3 separate regions of the Homo sapiens genome follow, and all the other regions are linked to region 1. The links are contacts of gene promoters, found by promoter capture Hi-C in human tissues and cell types (Jung and others, 2019). All regions are on one chromosome and are shown on one strand. The core of a region is centred on a gene start or on the middle of the fragment in contact, and the rest is flanking DNA. Distances in the headings are between cores, read along the strand shown.

The links. Contacts are between HindIII fragments. The study calls those that stand out against the background at their distance.
Region 2: a contact is called between a fragment that was not itself captured here and the fragment with the promoter of MAPKAP1 in region 1, in 1 of the 25 tissues and cell types used here (stomach).
Region 3: a fragment that was not itself captured here is called in contact with the fragment with the promoter of MAPKAP1 in region 1 in 1 of the 25 tissues and cell types used here (H1 embryonic stem cells).

Annotation. Positions count from the first base shown.
Region 1 is chr9:125,705,879-125,708,578 of GRCh38, reverse strand. It overlaps MAPKAP1 (MAPK associated protein 1), which reads left to right and starts at 1,371. Exons shown (of 12, transcript NM_001006617.3): 1 at 1,371-1,608. RefSeq lists enhancers at 998-1,157, 1,155-1,449 and silencers at 1,158-1,327, 1,438-1,667. The HindIII fragment of the contact is 13,511 bases long and covers 1-2,700 here.
Region 2 is chr9:125,912,559-125,915,258 of GRCh38, reverse strand. The region is part of intron 2 of PBX3 (PBX homeobox 3); the gene reads right to left. Among named protein-coding and RNA genes, the nearest start is that of PBX3, 170 kb to the right of the region's middle. The HindIII fragment of the contact is 3,943 bases long and covers 1-2,700 here.
Region 3 is chr9:125,490,202-125,492,901 of GRCh38, reverse strand. The region is part of intron 8 of MAPKAP1 (MAPK associated protein 1); the gene reads left to right. Among named protein-coding and RNA genes, the nearest start is that of MAPKAP1, 220 kb to the left of the region's middle. The HindIII fragment of the contact is 6,822 bases long and covers 1-2,700 here.

The DNA.
Region 1 (2,700 bases), core at 122-2,621:
AGTAACATGCTGTACAGGTGTGCAGCCTAGAAGCAATAGGCTAATACCAAACAGCCTAGGTGTGTAGTAGGCTCTGACATTGTGTAAGTACAGTCTATGATGTTTACACAACCACAAAATCAGCTAACGATGCATTTCTTGTGTCCTCATCATTAAGTGATGGATGACCATATTTGAAATACATGGGTAGACCCACCGTGTTTTTTGTTTTTTTGTTTTGAGACAGAGTCTCTGTCACCCAGGCTGGAGTGCAGTGGCCTGATCTTGGGTCACTGCAACCTCTGCCTCCCGGGTTCAAGCCATTCTCCTGCCTCAGTCTCCTGAGTAGCTGGGACTACAGGTGCACACCACCACGCCAGACTAATTTTTGTATTTTTAGTAGAGACAGGGTTTCACCATGTTGGCCAGGCTGGTCTCGAACTCCTGATCTCAAGTGATCTGCCCTCCTCGGCCTCCCAAAGTGCTGGGATTACAGGTGTGAGCCACCGTGCCTGGCCCCATGGCATATTTATTAATAAGTTTAAAATTGGGCAGGGGTCCCTCAGGGCTGAAATTCAACCTTGAGTTTTTTCTTTTGCTAAGGTGCGTTTTTGAGAGACTTCCCCAAGCATCTTTCAGGTGGGAGAACCACTCTCACTGCACTCCCTGAATCCTTTTTCCCCCTTCATCGTGGCTTTCTCTACTGATTTCCTCCGTGAGAGAGGAAGGGAGCAGCATGAGACACACTGAACTTCTGCCCTGTGCCAGTCCTCCTACATCTCCTGGAAACCTCCCAGCAGGGCTTGAGGAAGATTATTGTCACCTCCATATTACAGATATTATAATAAGAGAAATAACTAACATTGACTGCATGTTTACTATGTGTCAGGCACTATGCTGGGTGTTTTTCAAGCATCATCCCATTCGATTCCCACAGCAATATACTCTAAAGTTGAAACTATTGCCCTGGATGGGAAAACCCGAGGCTCAGAGAGAAGTGTCACATCCTAGGACACACAGCAAGTTATAAGAGCTGGCATTTGAACCCAGGTCTTTCTCAGAGAGGCTGAGCTGCCTCATCACTCATTTCTGGACGAACTAAGGGCTTTTCTCCGTGGAAATGGGGAGAAAGAAGATTCGATGGAGAAGCCTAACACTGATTCCTGCTCAAGGCAAGTCCAGGCACTGGCGCATCTTGCCAGAACTCAGTCTCCGACCCAGGCCTTTCCCTGCACTGGAGAAGCGGCGCGCATGCGCCCGGCCTCCCTCCCGGCCCCGCCCCGCGGGAAGCTACCGCTCCTTGCTTTCAGCTCTGGGGCTTGCGCACTACGTCCCCAGCCAGAGGCTCCTTCCCGGTCGGGGACTTCCGGAACGCCGGGGTGTGGTTCCGGGTCGTGTGCGGCTCGGGGTAATAGGGCTGCTGCTCGGCCGGCCGGCGGCGGCGAGCAGCAGGGGCATGAGGGCTAACCCGGGAAGCGGCAGCTGAGCGGGCCGGGAGGAGCGCCGGTCCCCGTGGATCCCGAGAGTGCAGAGCTCGGGGCAGGGGCCGGGAGGCGTGGGGGAGCCGGGCCCTCCCCTCAGGAACGTGTCCCGGGGCCGACCCGGCCCGTAGTGTGGAAGCAGCTTCAGGTAAAGGTTGCCCCAGCCGCCAGCTCCCCGCCCGTCCGTCAGCCCACCAGCTTGCCCACCTGGCGGCCCTCTCACCCCTCCAGTTTCAGCGCTGCCCGGCGGGCCGCCTGCCGGGCCCTTGTTCAGGTGGCCCGGGCGCGTTCGTTTCCTGGCCATTTCCAGAACTGGAGGCTGTCAGGAGTCTGAGGCGGGTGTGTGGTTTAGGGGAAAAGAAGCCAGCTGACCTGGTAGTGTGGGGGTGGGGGGTGTAGTTGACTCCGGCAGTTTCTGGGCCTGCACTTGGCAATATCTAGGTGCCCTGGTCTTCATAATGTGAAAATCAAGGTTTTCAAGCATTGACTGTGTGGTCCTTGTTTCCTTGCGTCCCTTCTCCCCCTCCCCCTTAAAGAGGTTAACAGCCTTACAGACTTTTTTCTAGCTACAGTGCTGCTGGAACTTTGATTCATTCTTTGTTTATGGGAGTGGCAAGGAGTCATTTAGATTTGTTTAAGGCTGGGAAAAAGAGATTGTAGCGTAAACAAGATTATGACTTTAACCAGAGACCCCCAAATTGACTCAGAAATTGGTTAAAACTTCCTTTTGAATGAATGAAAGTCACTTTGGAAGCCCACCACAGTACCTGGCACTGTACAAAGCACCATGTTGTTATAAACCCAAATCGGCAAAGTTCAAAACTTTCCCAGGTGTGAAGAGTCAAATGGAGACCCATTGGTTTAAAAAAAGCAGCGTTCTCATTCTCTGACAAGCAGGAGAGGTGGATCCGTAATGTTAAAACCCACTTGAGCAGAAGCCTAGATATGGGTTTTATTCCTTATATTTTATGAGCCCACACAAGGTACCTAGTAAACACGGAAAGAGTTCTTGATGAAGCAATAATTGTTTTCATGTTTTTCAGTTTACACACCTGCGGGATTTGGGGCATGCTGGTAGCCCTTTCCCATTCATCTGTGTGCTCATGCCTACCTTCAACTACTGTGTGTCCCAGACTGCACTTACACCCCCTTACATCTCCTAATCTGGCTCCTGGTTACCTTTCCAGTTATGCTTGAAAAGGTCTCCTTCTTTAATTACCCCATCCTGATCCATTACTCT
Region 2 (2,700 bases), core at 148-2,647, 210 kb before region 1:
GTACAGTTGGAGAAACAGAATTAAAATTCCCATAAAATAGTTAATTCACAAGCTGTAATCAAAAATTGAAAAATAAACAACATTAGATGAGCTTTTCCATCGTGTGATTTCAGAAGAGGAATACACACATTATGAGGTAACTGGCTATACTTAAATATATATATATTATTAAATGAATATTGTTAAGCAATTGCCAGCAAACTATAAAACGAGGATACTAAATACAGTATTAAAAATGTGCCATTGACATGGCAATACAGTGCTGGGCACAGTAGTCTCAATCTAATTTTGCTTTTAAATCAAGAACTTCCTAAGTGATGCCCAGTCAGCAACCTCTTCTGAGTACTATAGATCATAGCTGACAATTCATAGGTTTAATCAGGTCACACAGGCTTTCTGCCAAAATGTTTTCAACAACACAGAAGACAAAGTTTTAAAATAATTATCATGGTATAAAAAGCATTGGAGTCATGACAGCTCAAAATCAGCATTTTCATTAATGTGTAACATAATCTAAAACATCCCAGCCCAATTAACCTCTGTAAATCTGCTTCAAAGCAGGTTCCCTACACTAGTTACAAGGCTTCTTGGGGAAGAGGGGAAAAGGAAGTTGGCACCTTGCTTGTTTGTATTTGGATTCTCTTTTGAGTCTGTGCCTGTTGTTGTTTATCCACAGTGGTACACACTTTGTGTCTAGTGTAACTTACATGACATAACATCTATAAGCTGCCAAGTACTCAACTGATCACCAACTCTGATTTTATATGCTAACCTAAAGCTACCGTCAATTCTTTTAAGAACAGATTTCATTCCTAGATGCCCTGAATTACATCCATGGCATGACAGAGCTCTTGGTTGCCTTAACACAAATGCAAAACTTTAATTTCTTCCCCAAAACACTTTAAAGCTGTCACTTTCATTTAAAATTATACTTCAGAATAATTTCAACTGGATAATAAAACTAACTCACCATAATTTAAAATTTTATCTGTTGTCTATTCAGAGGCAAATAAGGTTTGAAAACTATAATATACTAAGACAATATATTCATTTAGGAGAGCAAAAAGATAACTCATAAAATGCGTACCAACACACTGCTGATAATTAAAAATAGGCAAACGTATTTGCTGTTTCTTCTATAACTAAAAGGGACTGCCTAATATTGTTCTAGAACTGCCATGTATTGGTTAAGTTTGCATTTTTAATTTAAATCTTTAATTTTCCTCTCTTTTAATTCACTGTGTTAAATGTTAAAAATCTCACGACCTGTACATGCTTGTAGTTCACATAGCAAGTTTTTTGTGCATTTGGCATGCAATGAGAGCTTACTGAGCAATCTCTTATGCTGCACTTTGAATTGTTTAATTTTTTATTCTTGTTTGAGGACTTCTCAAGTTTCTCCATTTTCAACTGAATTTTTGCCCACAGTTTTGTGTGTTTGTTGATTTTTGTATTTACATAGACACTGGTGCCTCTCCTGAAATGTGTTTTTTTAATCTACCTTCAAGTTTCCTCCGGGTTTCTAGTTTTCCCCTTGTAGTTAAACACATTAATCTTTTCCCTATGGACATGTGGTGAAGTACTTTAATAGCAGATTAACTTCCATACCCAAAATGATTACACTTCCCTGCACATGTACGGCAAACAAGAGAAGAAGCTCAATGACAAACATACAAGGAAGTACACCATAAGAGAGACAGAAGGAAATTCATTAGGAACAAATGCAAAAGGCACAAAACTAATTAGCCATCTATGATACTTTTATACATATGTATATAAATACGTATATAAACCATCATTATTGTACCAATAAGAAGCAATCCATAAGCTCAAAAGCCGTGGACACAAATAAAAACAATTATAAGTATACAGTATCAATTACTATAACGTTTTACTCTTATAATGAAAAAATATCTTATTTCTAAAATTATCAGTAAATCAACACTAAGTGCTTGCCTCAAGAACAGGAAAATATGTTTTAATGCAATCCTTTGTATTTACTTTATAAATTATGTGCATCAAATTTCATCAGAAAAATCATTTCCTGACGGAAAACTCATAGTTCTTTAGATGAAAAGTACTAAAGTACTTTGCAAATAGGCAACAAGAAGAAGACTATCAATAATAAAGGAATTTTCATAACTAGTCTGAAAAGTGAATCGGTTTCTTTTCTTTATTAAGCAAAGTAATGATTATGGGATCTTTAAATACTAATACCTGGTTTCCAAAATTACTTTCAATTTGAATATTTCTATTTATTTTCTTACTTAAAAACATTTAGTTACCATTTTATTCCTCATCCTACCTACCTAGCCACTCACTATTACTTAGTTTACTAACTTTCTAGAGTTACACTGGCTTTTAGTCATAATACCTACTCCTCTGGGCACCTATAAACATTTTAATGGGTCTAAATTTGCAAGGGCCAGAATGAATCAGACTGTGTGGTTATCAAAATATCTTGATATCTTCAAATTGAAACATGGTAAAACAATCATTTAAAATTTGATTGTACTTGTTTTTAATCCAAAATGTATGTATAATGAAACATACAGAGGTTTATAAAGGTTTACATCTAGGTTCTTTGGTCATCACAACATTATAAAGTTTAAAAAATAAACCCTATTTGCAATCTACTTATAATCACAACATTCATTTCCGTATCCCTAAGATTTAGACAAATCATACAAACACAGTAAA
Region 3 (2,700 bases), core at 110-2,609, 220 kb after region 1:
GGCATATGGCTGGAGCTAAGTAACTGCTAGTCTAGAAGAAACAGTCAACAGGATTGTGCTATGGACAAAGGTGAGGATATAACAGAGGCCACTGATCTTCCAGTTGAGTTCTAGAGTTGGCATAGATCTTTTTAGAGAAGAGACACTGAAGTTGCTTTAATTTATAACTAGATTGGGGCCTTTTAGACTTGGTGTAAGACTCCTTGAACCATAAAATGAATGTTAAAGTCCCATGCAGTTTGTATCTATGAGTACAAGGAATCTTCCAGTAATATACGGTGAGTTCATCTGAGCTATGATTTAATGATTAGTCCTATTTGTTTGAAATAAAGTCATATAACTCTAAGTGTCTCCCTCAGTTCCAATTAAATCACATCTATGAAAACACTTTTAAAACTATAAAACAGTATTTATAATTAGCCTTGGTCTGATCACCTGAAAGTAAACCTATTGCTTTTATGTGTGTACAGGCTTTGCAGCTGTGTTTGTTGTCAGATTATAACACATATACACAGCTATAACTGCACTTTCGTTTCCCATTATTATTGTCCAAATAGATATCAGGGGCAATGAAAACATGGCATTATAACCAATAAAGTCAGCAGTTCTCAAACTTTTTGGTTTTAGGACCTCTTTATACTCTTAAAAGTTATTGAAGACCCAAAGAGCTTTTGTTTTGTTTTGTTATTTTGAGGCGAGGTATTGCCCTGTCGCCAGGTCTCGCCCAGGATGGAGTGCAGTGGCAAATCAGCTCACTGTAGCCTCAAACTCCTGGGCTCAAGTGATCCTCTCATCTCTACCTCCCGAGCAGCTGGGACTACAGGTGTGCACCACCATGCCCAGCTGACTTTTTTTTTTTTTTTTTTAACTTTCAGTAGAGATAAAGTCTCACTATGTTGCTCAGGCTGCTCTTCAACTCCTGGCCTCAAACAGTGCTCCCGCTTTGGCTTCCCAAACTGCTGGTATTACAGGTGTGAGGCACTGCACCTGGCCAAGCTTTTGTTTATTGAGTTACATCTATTAAAAATTGATTAATTTTAAAATATTTATTGAAAAACAGTAATTTCATTAATGTTAATGACAGTTTTATGTTTTTTTGTTTTTTTTTGTTTTTTTGGTTTTTTTTGAGATAGGGTCTCTGTCACAAGGCTAGAATGCAGTAGTACAATCACAGCTCACTGCAACCTCCACCTCCTAGGCTCAAGCGATCCTCCCACCTCGGCTTCCCCAGTAGCTGGGCCTATCGGAGCACACCACTAAGCCTGGCTGCTTTTTTTTTGTATTTTTTGTAGAGATGGGGTTTTGCCATGTTGCCCAGGCTGGTTTTAAACTCCTGGACTCAAGTAATTCACCTGCCTTGGCCTCCAGAAGTGCCGGGATTACAGGGGTGAGCCACCATGCCTGGCCCAAATGACAAATTTTATGAAAAGTAACTATAATTTCTTTAAAAAAAATTTTTTTGAGACAGGGTCTCACTCTGTTACCCAGGCTAGAGTGCAGTGGCGTGATCACAGCTCACTGTAGCCTCAACCTCCTGGGCTCAAGTGATCATCCCACCTCATCCTCAGTAGCTGGGAGTACAGGCATGAGCCACCAAACCCAGCTAATTTTTGTATTTTTTGTAGAGTCAGAGTTTTGCCGTGTTGCACAGGGTGGTCTCAAACTCCTAGACTCAAGCAATCCACCCACCTCAGCCTCCCAAAGTGCTGGAATTATATTCATAAGCCACCGCACCTGGCCTAAATTTTTTTTTTTTTTTTTTGAGACGGAGTCTTGCTCTGTCGCCCAGGCTGGAGTGCAGTGGTGTAATCTCAGCTCTCACTTCAGCCTCCGCCTACTGGCTTCAAGCGATTCTCCTGCCTCAGCCTCCAGAGTAGCTGAGATTACAGGCATGCCCCGCCATCCTCAGCTAATTTTTTGTATTTTTATAGAGACGAGGTTTCACCATGTTGGCCAGGGTGGTCTCAAATTCCTGACCTCAAGTGGTCCGCCCACCTTGGCCTCCCAAAGTGCTGGGATTACAGGTGTGAGCCACTGCACCTAGCCAGGCCTAAAATTTTTAATGAGAAGAGTGTCATTATTTTATTATATTGCAAGTTTCTGTAATGTCTGGGCTTATAGAAGACACCTGGATTTTCATATCTGCCTCTGCATTCAGTCCGCTGCAATACATTGCTTTGGTTAAAGTATGTGAAGAAAATTTGGCCTGACACAGATATGTTGTTGAAAAAGGGAAGAATATTTCAATAGCCTTTTCAGATAATTGTGGGTATTAATTTTTGTTACTATACCAAAACTCAAATGATAGTTTCTATTTTGTTGTTGTTTTTTTGTTGGTTTGTTTTGTTTTGTTTTGTTTTTTGAGACAGAGTTTCGTTCTTGTTGCCCAGGCTGGAGTGCAGTGGCGCAATCTTGGTTCACTGCAACCTCTGCCTCCCGGGTGTAAGCGATTTTCCTGCCTCAGCCTCCCAAGTAGCTAAGATTACAGGCGTATGCCACCATACCCAGCTGATTTTGTATTTTTAGTAGAAACGGGGTTTCACCATGTTGGTCAGGCTGGTCTCGAACTCTTGACCTCAGGTGATCCACCCACCTCGGCCTCCCAAAATGGTGGGATTACAGGTGTGAGCTACTGCGCCCAGCCAAGCTTTTTATTCCTTTGTGCACTTGTAAGAGAATGGACATGAAAAAAGTAAGTCA